Regions from separate parts of the Homo sapiens genome. Here regions 2 and 3 are each linked to region 1. Evidence: promoter capture Hi-C in 16 types of primary human blood cells and fetal thymus (Javierre and others, 2016). All regions are on one chromosome and are shown on one strand. The core of a region is centred on a gene start or on the middle of the fragment in contact, and the rest is flanking DNA. Distances in the headings are between cores, read along the strand shown.

Evidence for each region. Contacts are between HindIII fragments. The CHiCAGO score rates a contact against its expected background, and 5 or more counts as called.
Region 2: a fragment that was not itself captured here is called in contact with the fragment with the promoter of MYOM3-AS1 in region 1 in 1 of 17 cell types (M0 macrophages); the score reaches 7.4 in M0 macrophages.
Region 3: the fragment with the promoter of NCMAP here is called in contact with the fragment with the promoter of MYOM3-AS1 in region 1 in 2 of 17 cell types (neutrophils and M2 macrophages); the score reaches 5.2 in neutrophils.

Annotation. Positions count from the first base shown.
Region 1 is chr1:24,064,845-24,068,277 of GRCh38, forward strand. MYOM3-AS1 (MYOM3 antisense RNA 1) reads left to right here and starts at 1,918. Exons shown (of 3, transcript XR_001737930.2): 1 at 1,918-1,998. It overlaps MYOM3 (myomesin 3), which reads right to left. Exons shown (of 37, transcript NM_152372.4): 26 at 3,379-3,433; 27 at 3,126-3,185; 28 at 2,177-2,244; 29 at 1,047-1,157. The HindIII fragment of the contact is 6,627 bases long and covers 1-3,172 here.
Region 2 is chr1:24,401,058-24,404,210 of GRCh38, forward strand. It overlaps STPG1 (sperm tail PG-rich repeat containing 1), which reads right to left. Exons shown (of 9, transcript NM_001199013.2): 2 at 262-399. The coding sequence starts at 331. Among named protein-coding and RNA genes, the nearest start is that of STPG1, 11 kb to the right of the region's middle. The HindIII fragment of the contact is 5,003 bases long and covers 1-3,153 here.
Region 3 is chr1:24,554,738-24,558,033 of GRCh38, forward strand. It overlaps NCMAP (non-compact myelin associated protein), which reads left to right and starts at 1,350. Exons shown (of 4, transcript NM_001010980.5): 1 at 1,350-1,432. NCMAP-DT (NCMAP divergent transcript) reads right to left here and starts at 1,287. Exons shown (of 3, transcript NR_109781.1): 1 at 1,079-1,287. The HindIII fragment of the contact is 15,304 bases long and covers 1-3,296 here.

The DNA.
Region 1 (3,433 bases), core at 668-3,167:
AGCCCCAAAAGTCCTCTCTTATGTCCTCACCATCCCAGGAAGTCTCCAAGTTCTCAGCCAAACCTAGGGTGGGTGACTGGAGTGGCTTCTGACCCCACCTTCTAGCCTTATGTCTTTGCATTGAAACACTCTGAGCCTCAGTTTACTCATCTGTAAAATCATGGCATCATCCTTGCCCTGCCTGTATGCTACAGCTGCTGTGGGGATCAAGGGAGGTAACTCTTAGGAGGCCAGAAAGTTTGCACCAATGGGACTGATGATTATAATAAAACTCTGTAACTTTGAAGCACCTACTGGTGCCACAGCCTGTCTGAGGAGCTTGCACAGTGGTGGCAAAGGCTGACTTGGCATCAGCCTGGCCAGGATTTGGGAGAAGACCTTGAAATCATTGTTTTCTTCCTAGTCAGCAAGGCTCTGTTTGCTCCAGTCCTCCTGGGCACCCAGTGAGGCCACAGACATCAGCAGCAGGGCAGAAAAAGGTTGACGTTTGAGAGCAAGCCTTGTGTTTCTCTCTTAACCAGGCCACGGTCCACCAAAGGCCATGGGGGAGGACTTGGGGGGAGAATTGAGCTCCAGGCCTGCTTTATTCTGCCCAGATCTGCCTCACATGGAGACATCCTTCCTGTCCCGACTCCTAGACTGTTGGGGCAGGAAGGAGGCGTTGAAAGAGCATCCCTTCCAACCCGCTCATGTTGCAGATGAAAGCTGAGGTCAGAGAGCGACGGGGGCTAGCCCAAGCCTGCACAGTCATTGGCAGGGCCAGTACTGGAGCTAAAGAAAAAAATCAGTAATACTGATTCTGTCTCTATTGAAAATTTGGGGGCTTTAATAGTTTTTTTGCATTAATTTTGATTTTTTAGAATATTGCATACAATATTATTTATCTTGATTACTGAGTTTTTTGGTGCCTCTTAAATTTTGTGCTCAGGGCCTCACTTGCATCAACCTAGCCTCGGCCCTGCCCTGACTCCCAGCCCAGAGCTCTTGGCCCTCCCTGGCTTGCAGCCAAAGGAGAAAGTGAGCCCTGAAGCTGGAGCCACACTTGCCTCTTCAATGCAGAGAAGTCCCGTTCCCGTCTCTGGGTCATACTGACCATCTGGCATCTCTGCCCTCTGGAAGAACCACTGAAAGCGAGTCTCCTTCTTGGTGTTGGTCACCTGGGGAAGGTGGGGAATGAGGAGACTCTGTCAGGCTTGTTTCTTTTTGAGTAAAAACACACCTGTGCACACTTTCAGGCATCTCAGTGGAGTCCTTTCACATACCATGTGTCTCCTCTGCTGGCCTCTGGACTCTGAATTCTTGCTAATGGTTTTCCCTCTGCCTCTTGATCCCTGCCTTACTCTATTTTTCTTGGAAATGTCCATGTGCTTCAGTTAAATGTCATCTCCTCCAGGAAGCCTTTTTTTTGAAGCATCCCATAGTCACCCCCTCCATCACGATTCATCAATGTCCTGCCCCATCCGGGTCAAGCATGAGGGATGCTGTTTTCCAATGGTCCTGCCTTGAACATGGGCTCCCAAGGCCCACAGAGACCACTTCATCATCTTTGTACGTTCAGTACCGTGCAGAGTGGCACAAAATAGATGCTCTGAGTTTACTGAATGAATATGCTTCTGGGAGAGCACCCACCCTCCCCTTCCCCAGTTATCTAAACAGGCTGAAGAGTGCTAAGAAGGACCTTAGGCTTTGGAATCAGATAGACTTGTTCAAACCTGGGCTCTCCCTCTTACCGTGTGGCCTTGAGCTATTTCTCCATTTGTTTTCTCATCTATGAAGTGAGGATAGTAATGCCTGTGTCACAGATGATTGTGAGGCGGATGAAATAATACTGTGAGTCTCTGAGCACAGGGTAATCATAAACACAGGGATACCCCTCAACATATAAACCCTCGTGGGCTCCTAGACCCCCTGACCCCTCAGAACCCCTTCTGGAGCCACTAGGATCTCGTTCAAGGCTGGTCCACCTCACACGAATCCTACCCCATGGGCGCTGGGAAGGTGGGTTTGCTTTTTGGGTTACGTGTGGTCTCCTCGGGGGTACTTTCTGTGTGTGCGATCAGCCAAGCACAGAGTATGGAATTTAGGGGGCCGGGTGGGCAGGGACAGCAACTGGGCTTGGGGACAAGCCACAGGTCCCCCTGCACTGGGCCTGGGGGCAGGGCAGGGCAGGACTTGCCTTGCACGTCAGCTGCACTTGGCAGTCCTCCGTGACCTTCCACTGCAACGGCCGCTCAAAATAGGGACCTGTGCGTGCAAAACAAATGTGCCCACTGTCAGAGAGCCAGGCTCAGCCAGGGTGCCACCTGTGTCCAGGCAGTGCTGGGGGGAGGGACAGCTAATGGCTATGGACTTCTCAGATGCTGCCTCTGCCAGGGCTGGGACTGGGGTGAGGCAGGGGCGGTGCTCAGAGCGCAAATTTCTTTCTTTCTTTCTTCCTTCCTTTCTTTCTTTCTTTCTTTCCTTCTTTCTTTCTTTCTTTCCTTCTTTCTTTCTTTCTTTCTTTCTTTCTTTCTTTCTTTCTTTCTTTCCTTCTTTCTTTCTTTTTCCTTCCTTCCTTCCTTCCTTCCTTCCTTCCTTCCTTCCTTCCTTCCTTCCTTCCTTTGTTTCCTTCCTTCTTTCTTTCTTTCTTTATTTTTGAGACAGAGTCTCGCTCTGTTGCCTAGGCTAGAGTGCAGTGGCGCAATCTCGGCTCACTGCAAGCTCCGCCTCCTGGTTTCAAGGATTCTTGTGGCTCAGCCTCCTGAGTAGCTGGAATTACAGGCGTGTGCCACCATGCTCGGCTAATTTTTGTATTTTTCATAGAGATAGGGTTTCACCATGTTGGCCAGGCTGGTCTTGAACTCCTGGCCTCAAGTGATCTGACCACCTTGGCCTCCCAAAGTGCTAGGATTACAGGTGTGGGGCACTGTGCCTGGCTTCAGGGTGCAAAATTTAAGAGGGCTCAGCTCTCACCCTCAGGTCAGGCAAGAGCTATTTTGATCTGGCACTGGGACAGAACTGGACTGAATGACAGTGGACCTCCCTTGGGGACCCAGCAGGGCTGGGGTTCCCATTAATCCGCAGTCCAGCATCTCTAGCACGAACCAGTGGCCAGGGATTTTGAACTTCACCCCAGCAGCTCTTACCCTGTTTTCTCTTCCAGTCCCTTCTCTTAGCATCTGCCTTCCTCAGAAGCTTGTCAAAATCTGTGAACACAGAGGGAGGAACTGGCATGAGCCGAGAGGAGTGTGGGTCTGGAGAGGGGACATGGGGTGGACAGAAGTCGAGGGGGCTGTGCTCAGCAGGCTGCAGAGCCGAGGACTCAGGGCTGCAGGGCAGGCCAGGTGTGCGGGGCAGGGCGGGGCAGGGCTGGGCGGGGCGAGGCTGGGCATGGCTGACCGTCATCCACCAGTGTCAAGGTAATCTGGTTTTTGGCTTTTCCATCTTGGAGTTG
Region 2 (3,153 bases), core at 171-2,670, 340 kb after region 1:
CATGGAACTAACAAGTCTGGGTTTTGTTTATTAGTTTTTTATTTTTTAACAGACTTCCTCCTTCTTCTCTCATCCTTTCTTCTCAGTTTCTTCCCAATCGTCACACTTGAAACAGTAGGGCCTAAAGCCACCTATTTGGTATGCCTGTAAGGATGGCCCTGTGGATATAACCCAGGACTTACTATTCCCCCCAAATTTGCTCTTATGTACTAAAATAAGCATATGTCAGGAGCTATCTCCTCCCTGCAAAGACACATGTACCTTTCTGTACTTCACTGGCACGTCTGGGATGTTTGCCAGTGCGTTCATTTTTCTGTGCAGAGTTGTCCATGTTAGCAAAATTCTGTGACGTGTTCCATTTGTTTGATGAAAAGTTCTACTGCATGTTCTCCTAAGCACCTGAAACAGCAAAACACAGCATTTGTAGAGATCATTTCACATTGGTTAATTATTGCAAATGGGTTCTGTTCTATCTACAGGGTAAACTGAGAAATGGTGTGGGTGCCGGCTGAGATCTACCAAGTGCAGTGACCCAAAGTCCCAAGCACATTGTGCTGGTGCTGCCTGCAGTAGGAACTGCGTAAGAAGTCACTGTTGATGTTGCTTACAGAACTACTGAAGGCTTGGATTTTATTTTTATTTTTTATTTTTTGATACGGAGTTTTGCTCTTGTCACCCAGGCCGGAGTGTAATGGTGTGATCTTGGCTCACTGCAACCGCTGCCCCTGCCTGGGTTCAAGTGATTCTCCTGCCTTAGCCTCCTCAGTAGCTGGGATTACAGGCGCCCACCATCTGTAATTTGTATTTTTAGCAGAGATGGGGTTTCACTATGTTGGCCAGGCTGGTCTCGAACTCCTGACCTCAGGTAATCTGCCTGCCTCTGCCATCCAAAGTGCTAGGATTACAGGTGTGAGCCACCATGCCTGGCCTATTTTTATTTAAATTTAGCTTTACTGAGACATAATGTATACACAAATAAAATTCATCAGTGTTAGTTGTACAATTCCAAGTTTTGGCAAATGTTTACAGCCAAGTTAAATACCACCACAATTAAGATATTAATTTATCTATGATGCTGAGAAGCTCCCTGTGTCCCTTTGCAGTCAGCACCCTCCCAACCACTGCTCTGCTGTCACAATTGTTGCCTTTCTAGAATGTCACAGAAATGCAATCATAGACACTCTTTTTTCACTTAGTGTAATGCTTTTGAAATTCTTCCATATTGTTGCATAGATCAGTACTTTGTTCCAGTTGTTCTACATCCTCACCAACATGTGTTTGCTCAATCTTGTTAATTTTAGGCATTCTAGTGATTTTATAGTGGTATCTCATTGTCATTTTAATTTGGATATTTTCATGTGCTTATTTATCTTCTTTAGTGAAGTGTGTTCAAATCTTCTACCTTTAAAACAAAAAAATTGGGGACAGCCATTGTGGCTCACACCTATAATCCCAACACCTTGGGAGGCTGAAGCGGGAGGATTGCTTGAAGCGAGGAGTTTGAGACTAGCCTAAGCAACATAGTGAGACCCCATCTCTACGAAAAATAAAAAATTAGCCAGCCTGTAGTCCCAGCTACTCTGGAGGCTGAGGTGGGAGAACTGCTTAAGCCCAGGAGATCAAGGCTGCACTGAGCCATGACAGCACCACTGCACTCCAGAATGGACAACAGAGCAACAGCCTATCTCAAAAAAAAAAAACAAAAAAAAACAAAAAAACAAAAAACCACAAAACCCAAAAACAATTGGATTTAATTGGGTTATTTATTGAGTTGTACAAGTTAATACATCTGGATACAAGCCTTTTATCATATATGTTTTGAAAATATTTGCTCCCCGGCTGAGGTTTGCCTTTTTATTTTCTTAACACTATCTTATGAATGCAAATTTTTAAATTTTGATCAAATTTGTCAAAATTTTCTTTTAAGGTTTTAAGATTTCTTTTGTCAGATCTAAGCAATTTTTGCCTAACTCAAGGTCACAAATATTTTCTCCTACATTTTCTTTTAGAAGTTTTATAGTTTTAGCTCTTACATTTAGGCCTAGGATCCATTTTGAATTAAACTGTGTATACAGTATTAAGGTAAGGGTCAGGTTCATTTTATTTTCATTTTATTGCATTTGGAGATTCAATTAATCCAGCACCATCTGCTAAAAAGAATACCCTTTTTTCACTGAATTATCTTGGCACACTCATCAAAAATCTACTGTGTGTATGTGTTTATTTAGATATACATAGTGCTATTTCTAGATTCTCTATTCTGTTCTTTTGAACTCTGTGTATATCCTTATACCAACAGCTCACTATCTTGCTTTAGAGTAAGTTTTAAAATCAGGTAGTTCCAACTTTGTCTTATTTTTCAAAATTATTTCGACTATATTAGCTCTTGTACTAGCCCTTTTGAATATAACTTACAGGTCAATTTCTACTAAAAGAAAAAACCTCCCTGGATTTTGATTGAGATTGCATTGAATCTATAGAACAATTTAGGGAGAATTTACATCTTAACTTTGTTGAGTATTATGTTCCATTAATATGGTATACTCTCCATTTATTTTGATATTATTTAATTTCTCAGCAATATTTTACAGTTATCAGTGTACAAATATTGCATATATTTTCTTAAACTGATTCCTAAGTATTTCATATTTTATGTCAAAAAAATGGTCTTAAAATTTTTTAAATTTCTCATTGTTTATTGCTGGTATAGAGAAATATAAGTAATTTATATATATTAATGCTGTATCCTGCAACTTTGCTAAACTTTTTTTTTCAGTTCTAGTAGCTTTTTTGTCGATTAGGAATTTCTACATATATAATCATGTTGTATGTGAATAAAACATTTTATTTCTTCTTTTCCAATTTGTATGCCTGTTATTTCTTTTTATTGTAATACTGCAATGACTAGGGCATCCAGTACAATACTGAACAGAAGTGACAATAATGGACATCTTTGTCTTGTTACTGGCTCGAGTGGGAAAGTATTCAGTCTTTTGGCATTAAGTACAATGTTAGTTGTAGGTTTTTTTAAAATAAAAGCTCGTTATCACTTCTAATCTGTTTCCTAAGAGTTTTTAACAGGAACAGGTGATCAATTTTATCAAATACTTTTTCCGCATCTATGGAGATGATCATACAATTGTTCTTTGTGAA
Region 3 (3,296 bases), core at 100-2,599, 490 kb after region 1:
GAAAGTAGAATTACAGGATTATACTCTCAATCAATATTTGTTAATACCACCTTGCAGCTGGGCATGGTGGCTCATGCCTGTAATTCCAGTACTTTGGGAGGCCAAGGTGGGAGGATCGCTAGAGCCCAGGAGTTAGAGGCTGCAGTGAGCCGAAATCCCGCCACTGCACTCCAGCTGGGGCAGGAGAGCAAGACCCAGTCTCCATAAAATAAAATGGGTTGGGAGCAGTGGCTCATCCAGCACTTTGAGAGGCCAAGGCTGGTGGATCACTTGAGGTCAAGAGTTGAAGACCATCCTGGCCAACATGGTGAAACCCTGTCCCTACCAAAATATATATATACATACACACACAAAAAAATTAGCCGGGTGTGGTGGCATGTGCCTGTAATCCCAGCTACTCGGGAGGCTAAGCCAAGAGAATCGCTTGAACCAGGAGGCAGAGGTTGCAGTAAGCCGAGATTGTGCCACCACACTCCAGCCTGGGCTGCAGAGTGAGATCCTGTCTCAAAGATAAATAAATAAATAAATACTACCTTGGAGTTTCCTATAAAAATACGTGTTTTCTTCCTATAAAAATCTTAGTTCTTAGCTGAGGAGAGTTTGAAAGCATCTCACAGGCACTGAGCGGCAAGGCAGTCGGCCCAGATGCAATCACTTTCTGGAAATCAATTGAAAATAGAACCGGGAAACCAGCCTCCACTCCTGATACTGTTACTAACCTGCTATAAGACTTTGTGCTCACCTTTGCTTCCTGGGCCTCAGCTTCCCTGTTTCTGAGAGAAGAGATCCCCTCTCCGAGATCTCTTCCCGCTTTCTATAAATATTGATTGAGTACCCGCTGCCTGCCAGGGATATCGCCCTGGGCTCCTGGGATACAGCTGGAATCTCGACAGCCTGGGGAGGAAGGAGCCTTTGATCCTACAGCGGCAAGAGTTCTTGACACTTGCCGGCTGCCAAGCCTGTTTCCTCCCGGTCTAACGTTCTGTGGTTGTCTGAATCTCCAGCTGCCCCTCAAAACCTTCAATCAGATTAGCGCCGTGCTCCTTTAAAGACCCTACTCAAAGTGCCTGGAGCTCACCTGGGTGTGTTTGTGAGGCCCTTTCCCTCTCTTTACCCCGCGGAGGAGTCCGACCTGGAAGCCTCCTGCTGGACTTCTCTACTGGACTGAGTGCCCGGGAGTGCCAGAGCCAGTCCCAAAAAGGACCCAGGAGCGGGGACACCACGGGGAGGCGCCGCCACTCCAGTGTGCGGGACCCTGGCACCCCCGGCGCGTTCTCCGGCCTCCCCAGGATCACCTGCACGGGGCGGGGCCGGGGGCGGGACGCCCCGGGCGGGGGCGGGATCCCAGGGTGGCAGCGCCGGGCGGCGGCGGGGACCCTGGCTGGGAGCGCGGCGGTGCCGGCGGGAGGCCGAGCGGGGCTCGACAGAGCAGGTAGGAGGCGCCTGGTCGCCGGGGTTGCCCGGGGCTGCGGGGAGCGAGGAGCGGTCCGGCCCAGGTGCGGTGGCTTCCTGTCCACCTGCCGGCCGCGCTGGGCGAAGGAGGGCCCGGGGGTGGGGACGAGGGGTCCCCAGTCTCACCCCCACATCTGTTGGAGGAAGTGCCTGGGGTCTGCGCGGGAGGGCGTTGGTCCGGGGTGGTGGGAGGGAGGCTGATCATCTCCAGTGGGTCTTGGAGACGAGGTCGTTTCCTTGTCCCCTCCCCACCCAAGCATCTGGCGGAGGGGCCGAGGCTCGCTGGAAGAAAAGGGAGTCGACCTTGACCCGGCCTGGAGATAAAGGAACTTTTACCCACTTGGGGCCTTATCCGCCCCATCTGTTAAATGGGCGCCTTGATGGGTCTGCCCTATGCAGAGGCCCCTCCGGAAGATCTGCGATTCAGCGAGATGAAAACCCACGGCAGAGAAGGAGCCCAGGGCCGTAGTTTCCATCCACAGCACGTTTGGAGGGGCTCGGGGGTCGCTCATCCAGCAGCGCTCCTGAGGAAGGATGCAGAGACGGCTCCAGTCCTCTGGGTATCCTTGTGGGAGGAGATGGCTGTGTCAAATATGAAGGCTGGATTAGAGAGACCAAGGCAGCCCTTGAGTCTGGGAGAAGATTCTGGAAGGCCCCTTGGAGGAGGTGGCATCTGAGTGGGGCAGGGAAAGGAAAGGTGGTGGTTAGGGCAGCGCTTTGGAGTCCCTGCTTTACCCCTCAGCCAAGGCCGTCCAACAGTCTCGGGCAAGTCCACACTTTTCTCTATGTTTCAGTTTGATGTGCTCCTTAAATGAAACAATTTCTCTGACAGATTAAATCAGATAACTCATAAAGTGTTTAATACAGGGTGGGTATATAGTAGGCACTCAATGAACATGAGCTATTAATGTCTGCTAGCAGCTGCTTGGGGGCAGGGATGATGCCTATTTGGTTCACCCTTGTATCCCCAGCACCAGCACGGTGCCCAGCATGCAGTAGGTCTCAATACATATTTGTCCAATGAATGAATGAATGCATATGAAGTACAATGCTTGGCACAAATAGTGAATTTACAGATGGCTGGTTCTAAGAGGTGGGTATGGATACTAGAGACAGTGGTCTAGGTGGATGGAACAGTTATAAGCAGAAGCCAAGAGCAACAGATTATAGGCACCCCCTCTTATGGTGCATGTGTGTATGTGTGCATGTGTGTGTGTGTGCGCTTGTGTGCATGTGTGTGCATGTGGGTGTGTGCACGTGTGTGCGTGTGTGTGCGTGTGTGTGTTGGTGGTGGTAGTAGAAAGTGACAGGCACAGCCAGAGCACCGGGATAGAAGAGGGCACATAATACCCTGGAATCCTGAGTCCCATCAGCCCGTGGGAGTGGATGATGGGGCAGGAACTCTAGGTAGGCCAATACCTTTACTCATGTCCTCTAAGTGGGGAGAGGGGACAGAAGGGCAGCCAAGAGACACCAAAGGACCATGAATGCCTGGTGGGAGGGGAGGAGGAAATGGGAAGGGGGTTCCCATGACCCCTTCATGGCCTGTGGCTTTCTTCACCTTGTCCCTGCTGGGCTCTGTGCTGGCTGGGGCCGAGATGAGCTGTGGGGAGGCAGCATGGTGCCAAGCCAGCCAGCCGCGGCGCGTGCGGTGAGCTGGGCATATAGTGAGCTGGGCTTGAGGAACTGGCTGGGCTCTGTGGGAATCTAGTGTAGTGGTTTCCTATCAACAGCTTATCCCCTGGGCCAGTTCCTGGGCTCCGTAGCACCATGTGGACTATGGCCATTCCTGCCTGAAGTCAGGAAGGAGCTGTGTCCTTGAGGTAGAGCCACTCTAAGCAAAG